2 separate regions of the Homo sapiens genome follow, and region 2 is linked to region 1. The links are contacts of gene promoters, found by promoter capture Hi-C in blood cells and fetal thymus (Javierre and others, 2016). All regions are on one chromosome and are shown on one strand. The core of a region is centred on a gene start or on the middle of the fragment in contact, and the rest is flanking DNA. Distances in the headings are between cores, read along the strand shown. Region 1 holds the start of PNPLA5 (patatin like domain 5, triacylglycerol lipase). Region 2 overlaps LOC105373053 (a long non-coding RNA gene).

Evidence for each region. The method cuts DNA at HindIII sites, captures the fragments that hold promoters and counts their contacts. A CHiCAGO score of 5 or more calls a contact.
Region 2: a contact is called between a fragment that was not itself captured here and the fragment with the promoter of PNPLA5 in region 1, in 2 of 17 cell types (M2 macrophages and megakaryocytes). The highest score is 5.7, in M2 macrophages.

Annotation. Positions count from the first base shown.
Region 1 is chr22:43,890,416-43,894,014 of GRCh38, reverse strand. It overlaps PNPLA5 (patatin like domain 5, triacylglycerol lipase), which reads left to right and starts at 2,002. Exons shown (of 9, transcript NM_138814.4): 1 at 2,002-2,327; 2 at 2,721-2,953. The coding sequence starts at 2,135. The HindIII fragment of the contact is 5,727 bases long and covers 1-3,599 here.
Region 2 is chr22:43,379,264-43,382,862 of GRCh38, reverse strand. The region is part of intron 3 of LOC105373053 (a long non-coding RNA gene); the gene reads left to right. Among named protein-coding and RNA genes, the nearest start is that of LINC01639, 19 kb to the left of the region's middle. The HindIII fragment of the contact is 5,976 bases long and covers 1-3,599 here.

The DNA.
Region 1 (3,599 bases), core at 753-3,252:
CTGGCTCCAGGCCTTACGCTTCCTCCCACAGCCCCGCACCACCTGCCCTCACCGCCATGACTGCTCTCTCCCGCTGGCTGGCTTCTCACTCCTCCCTACTCCTCCCTGCCTGGTGCCTTTGCTCAAACTCTTCCCTCTGTGCCCATCTCCCTTTCTCCCCGTGGTGAACCCTTGATCGACCTCCAAGGTCCTGCTCAAACCTTGCTTTTTCTCCGAAACCTCCGGAACATGTCCCTGCTGAACTCCCAGCCCCTGAACTCCTCCCTTCCTGAACTCACACTGGTGGTCCACTGTTCCAGGGAGGCTCAGTCTGCCTCCGGCACAGTCACAACTGTGGGTGAAATGTTCCTGGCTGTGCCTGCTGTGACCTGGTTCCCTCCTGGAGCAGAGTCAGCACATGGCTTCTAATTACCCCCTGCAGCTGGGGCTGGGTCCTTCCCGCAATGGAGATAGCCTGGGGTACCTGCCACCAGGTGGGTGAGTCTGTGCAGGCCCATGGTCTTTGAGGCAAGGATGCCGCCCCTGGTGTGGGATCAGCAAAGCCCGGTACCGCCCACCTCTGTGGGAGGGGAGGCTGGGCTGGCCTGTCCCAGGGTGCCTTCTGCACCCAGTGCCCATGGGCAAGCTGCCCTTCACTCCCAGGTCAAGGAAGAGGTAGGTGTGAGGCTAAGAGAAGCAGATCCTCCCACCTCTTCCTCCGAAAATGACCCACCCAGGCCATGGGCTGAGCATTCAGTCCACAAACACTGTGCCACACTTCTTCCAGGCACAGATGGAGGACCTGGCCCTCAAGGAGCTCACATGAGAAGGCACTGATATGTGCCATGTGATTAAAGCAGTAACACAGGGATGGGCGCAGTGGCTCCTGCCTGTAATCCCAGCACTTTGGGAGGCTGAGGTGGGCAGATCATCTGAGGCCAGGAGTTCGAGACCAGCCTGAGCAGCATGGTGAAACCCTGTCTCTACCGAAAATAACAAAAATTAGCTGGGCGTGGTGGTGCGTGCCTGTAGTCCCAGCTACTTGGGAGGCTGAGGCAGGATAATTGCTTGAACCTGGGAGGTGGTGGTTGCAGTAAGCCGAGATTGTGCCACTGCACCCCAGCCTGGGTGACAGAGTGAGACTCTGCCTCAAAATTAAATAAATAAATAAATAACATAGCGGTTGCCATTGATTGTGCGCCACTTGATTAAAACAATCACCGTAGTAACCATTGTTTGTGTGCTTATCCAGTGCCGGGCGCTATTCCAAACACGTTACTTGCATTAACTCTAATCCTTACCGGTCCTATGGAGTAAGTAATGTTATTATCCCCACTTGATGGATGAGAAAACTGAGGCACAGATCAGTTAAATTATCCAGGGTCACCAGCCAAGACATTCTGGAGCCAGAATTGGAGCCCAGACAGCCCTAATCACTACAAACCCAAGTTCTTGGAGCTTTGCAGTTTATAAAGCACTTTCCAATGGATTGATTAGGGGAGGAGGGAGGAGGTGGGATGTTTGAGCAGGCTGTAGTGGTAGGTGAGGCTTGGAGAGCGGGTGAGCCAGGGGAAGGTGCAGTGGTGCTGGCTGGAGCGGAGGCTGGCCCCGAGACCTCTCTTTCCCTCAAGTCCCTCCCTGGAACCAGCACAGCTGCGGACTTAAGCCTGGTTTGACCCCAAAGACCAGGTGTCCTGGGTCCGACTCTGCCACTTCCTGGCTGTCACCATCCTGGGCTGCGCCTCAGTTGCCTCATTTGCGTAATGAGGACTGGAATAACATCTGCCCAGACTACCAGAGATCAGGCAAGATTTGGTCCCACTCCCCTGCCGTGTCACCCAGAAATCTATGACCCGATGCGGATCCGGGGCGGGCGCGTGGGGGCGGCGCCAGCGTATACACAGCGCGCGGGCACTTCTGGGGCACACCTGGCGCACAACTGGAGTGGGGGCTGATCGCGACCCGGGGACTTCATTGGCTGGGGCGCAGGTGACGCAGCCCGGGGGCGGCGCAGGGAGCACCAGCACCAGCCCCAGCCCGGCTCCCTCCAGAGCCCACATTTGGGCCCAGCCCCGTCCAAGGCTGCATCCCGGCCCTATCCCGGGTCACGGAGTGACCCTTCCTCGTCCCGATCACCCCGCCCGGTCCACCCGCCATGGGCTTCTTAGAGGAGGAGGGCAGATGGAACCTGTCCTTCTCCGGCGCCGGCTACCTGGGCGCCCACCACGTGGGCGCCACCGAATGCCTGCGCCAGCGAGCCCCGCGCCTCCTCCAGGGCGCCCGCCGCATCTACGGTTCCTCGTCTGGGGCGCTCAACGCAGTCAGCATCGTCTGCGGCAAGTCGGTCGGTGAGTCCCGGACCGCGGGGGCGAAAAGGGGCGGGGACAGCTTAATGAAAGCGGATCGAGCCCAGAGACGCTGGTGCCTGGCGCTGTGCTCTGCGCCCTCTACCCCCGGCACAGCCTCATTTAATCCCATGAGAACACCGAGTGCTGGGGACTAGGTGACCCCCATTTGCAGAGGAGGGATCGTGGCTCAGAGCCAGAAACTCTGTTTCCCAGGTCGGCGGGGCAAAAAGTGAAAAGGTGAACGGATCATTTGAATCCGGGGCCGAGCCCAGAAATTCTGAGCTGGAGTGGGGAGGACCCCGCTCCCACTGCACCTAGGAGGGCAGTGGGGGTGTGGAGGGACTGGCAGGATCCCTGGGCGCTGAGGTCTCCCTTTCCCTGCCCCCACTGCAGACTTCTGCTGCTCCCACCTCCTGGGCATGGTTGGGCAGTTGGAGCGGCTGAGCCTAAGCATCCTGCACCCGGCCTACGCGCCCATCGAGCACGTCAAGCAGCAGCTGCAGGATGCTCTGCCCCCCGACGCCCACGTCCTGGCCTCCCAGCGGCTGGGCATTTCGCTGACCCGCTGGCCTGACGGACGCAACTTCTTGGTCACTGACTTCGCCACCTGCGATGAGCTCATCCAGGTGTGGGGCGGGGGGTGCCCAGGGCTTGGCTGGTGGGCGGGCTCCATCTAGTCCAGAGTGACATCCAGGTACTTCCCCGTCAGACGTTTCTGCAGGGGCGGAAGGAGGGAGGGCGGGTGGACCTGTTTGTAGGTGAGGAAACTGAGGCCCAGAGAGGGTCGGCAGGGTGGGTCTGGAGACTTTCCAGGTTGCTGCACACAGAAGGGTCTGGCTGGGGCCCGGCAGAGTCAGGCTGCTGAGTCAGGGCCCCCACAGGGACTGCTCTTTCCAGAGGGCAGCTGGCTAGCCCCAGCCTCCACCCCACTCCATCCTCCCGCCGCTTTTTGGCGGTGGGTTGACATTTATTGAACACCTATTATGTGCCAGTCACTATTCTAGGCACTGTGACTGTAACAGGGAGCAAAACAGACAGAAACCCTTGCCTTCCTGGGGCTTCTATGCTCAGTGGTTCTGGGGGGCAGGCGGTATCGATAATGAACTCATCTCCAAGTAAGGAGGTAAGGAACCATCCAGTATTGAAATGAAATAGGATGTCTAAAAAAGATGCTTCACATACACCCTGACACTATTATTTGCCAATAGTGTGTACGCGCACGCTCAAGTGCAGGCACACAGTGTGACAACCAAAAATGTCTCTGACATTGTT
Region 2 (3,599 bases), core at 820-3,319, 510 kb after region 1:
AAGCTCCACCTCCCAGGTTTATGCCATTCTCCCGCCTCAGCCTCCTGAGTAGCTGGGACTACAGGTGCACACCACCATGCCTGGCTAATTTTTTTGTATTTTTAGTAGAGACGGGGTTTCACCTGTGTTAACCAGGATGGTCTCAATCTCCTGACCTCATGATCTGCCCACCTTGGCCTCCCAAACTGCTGGGATTATAGACATGAGCCACCACGCCTGGCCCTAATTTCTGTTCTTAACATTTGATTCCTTTTAATATCTTGGGGTTTATTCTGCTGTTCTTATTTTAACTTTTAAGTCAGATGCTTAGTTCGTTCATTTGAAGCATTTCTTTTTTCTTCTTCTTTTGTTTTATTTTTGAGACAGAGTCTTTCTCTTTTGCCCATGCTGGAGTGCAGTGGCACCATCTCAGCTCACTGTAACTTTCACCTCCTGGGCTCAAGCAATCCTCCTGCCTCAGCCTCCAAAGTAACTGGGACTACAGGTGTGCACCACCATGCCCAGCTAATTCTTGTATTTTTTGTAGAGACATGGTTTTGCCAGGTTGCCCAGGCTGGTCTCGAACTCCTGGGCTCAAGCAATCCACCCACCTCGGCCTCTCAAAGTTCTGAGATTACAGACGTGAGCCACCACACCTGGGCCATGAAGCATTTCTTATTTGCCAATACAAGCATTTAAGATTATAAACACTCCTCTAAATACTGCTTTGGTTGGATCTCACAAGTCGTGATGCAAAACATTTTTGTGAATGCTCAATTCTAAGTATTTTCTAATTTTAGTTGTGATTTCGTTTTTGGACCGCGAGTTGTTTGGATGTACTGTTTTTCCTAAAGTACAGGCATTTGCTTGTTGTCTTTTTGGTTATTAACATCTAACTTGTTTAGATTGTGATCAGAGAATATAGTCTGTGTACACATTGTGGTGGAAGCTATGACTACAGCACAGCTTCCTCTTCCGGAACGAAGGACTTAGTCCCCCAGCTGCTGCGAGAGCTGCTGGAGGATGGCCCCCAGCTGTCTGCTCTCTTAGGAAGTTATGTGGGCTGAGGAAATTGACTTGCCCAGTCAAGACCATGCCTCCTTCAATGAGCAGCCTGCATGCAATGGCTGCTCAGGGTGAGAATGTAAAGGCCTGGTTCCTTACCAACTCACACCCTTCTGAAGGACTACCCAGCTCCAGCACTCTCTGCGGAGCTGGCAGAGGCTTCCGTGGGTATTGCATTGCTGCTCCACCTCTCCATCTGTGCAGACCTGTCTCATCCCATGCATTCCACAAGTGCTGATCCAAGGAATGTTCCCAAATAAAATTCCTGCACCCCAATCCCCATCTCAGAGCCTGACTCCCAGGAGATCCGACCTACCAGCCTGATCTTGGACGTGCATTGAGGTTAGCTTTATAGTCTATGATACTTTCCAAATGTCCCATGCATGCTTGAAAAGAATGTGTTCTCCCCCATTTCGGGGTTTCATATGCTACATGTTGATTATATGAAACTTGTCATTGTGTTCCTCAAATCTTTGATTTCTTCACCAAAATGGCCTAAAAATATCCCATCCTAAAGGTGGAGATATCTATTCTTGTCCCTTCCATTTTTGCTTTATATTTTTTGCAGCTATGATGATATTATATATAAATTGAGAACTGGTACAGCTTCCTGGTGAATTGAGCCTTCCACCATTATCTAGTGACTCTGGATCACTAGATAATGGAGTGCAATGGCACGATCTCAGCTCACTGCAACCTCCACCCCCTGGGTTCAAGCGATTCTCTTGCCTAAGCCTCCCGAGTAGCTGGGATTACAGGTGTGCACCACCACACCTGGCTAATTTTTTGTCTCTTTAGTAAAGACGGGGTTTCTCCATGTTTTTTAGGCTGGTCTCGAACTCCCAACCTCAGGTGATCCACCTGCCTCAATCTCCCAAAGTGCTGGGATTACAGACGTGAGCCACTGTGCCCGGCCACATATTTTTTCTATACTTGGACTTTCAACAGTTCTTGGTTCCTATGTTTGAGGTATGGGATTATGCTCTCTTGTAAACAGAACATAATCTCTGTTTTTAAAATTCATTCAGACAGTCATCTTTCAACTAAAGTGTTTAGTCCTTTAATATGAATTACTGACAACATAAATGTAGATTAATTTCCATGGTCTCATAATGTATTTTCTATTCATTCTATATTTCCTACCCTCAGCCCCCTTTCTAATCTTCCTTTGTATCATTTGAGATTTTTATCTTCTTTTTCTTATCCTATTTTTTCTTTCTAATTATTTAGAAGTTATCAGCTCTATGACTAGTTTTTAGTGCTTACTCTAGCTATCTTAACACTGAGCACTTAACAAAGTCTAAACTTAATATATTTGCCTTCTCCCCAAATAATGGAAAGACATTCACAACTTGAATTTTGAGCATCCGTCCCATATTATATGGTATTGTCCAGTATTTTAATACTAGCCCATTTTTCCTACCATAAGTTAGGCATTATTATCGTGGAGTCCTATACTCCGTTGTTGTTTAGTTTTCCATCAAATGTTTCCAACATATGTGCCCATTGTTCCTTCTTGTATGCCTTGCCTTTTCTCTGGAATAATTTTGATTCTGTCTGAACTACATTACATTTAAATGTGTCCTTAGTGAAGATCTTTTGGAGGTAAAATCTCACCATTTCTTTTTGTCTGAATATGTCTTCATTTCACCCTCAGTTCAGTAGGATAGTAAAGAGTTCTAAGTTGACCGTTGTTTTTTTTCCAGCACATGAAAGATATAATTCCACTGTCTCCTGGTTTCCATTGAGGATAGTGATACATCAGCTGTAAATGATCCTTTAGAGTTTTTTTGTTTGTTTGCTTGTCTTGTTTTGTTTTGGGGGGCTTTTGTTTGTTTGTTTGTTTTTGAGGCGTAGTTTCACTCTTGTTGCCCAGGCTGGAGTGCAATGGGGTGATCTCGGCTCACTGCAACCTCCGCCACATGAGTTCAAGTGATTCTCCTGCCTCAGTCTTCCCAGTAGCTGGGATTATAAGTGCCCACCGCCATGCCAGGCTAATTTTTGTATTTTTAGTAGAGACAGTGTTTCACCATGTTGGCCAGGATGGCCTTGGACTCCTGACCTCAGGTGATCTGCCCACCTCGGCCTCCCAAAGTGCTGGGATTACAGGTGTGAGCCACGGCGCCTAGCCAGATGCTTTCAACATCTCTTTTTCTCTGATGTTCCATAGTTTTCTTGGGATGTATGTAAATGTGAATTTCTTTTTATTTATCTTGCTTGGGATTCACTGGGCTTCCTGGATCTGAGATTTGTTATGTATAATTTCACAAAAGTATCAGCCATTACCTCTTCGTGTATTGCCCGTTCTCCTATTCTGTTAGCTCCTTCTAGAACTCTAAATACACGTACATTAGGCCCTGCCACTTAATTTTTCTGGATAATTCCTTTGGTTCTACTAGCTTATTAAACCTCTCTTTGGCTGTGTGTAATCTGCTGCTCGCTCTGCTCATTTCAAATTTCAAATGCTACATTTTTCACTTCTGTACATTTTATTTGATTCTTTTTCAAATCTGGTTGTTCCTTTTTTTTTTTTTTTTTTTTTTTTTTTTTTAGAT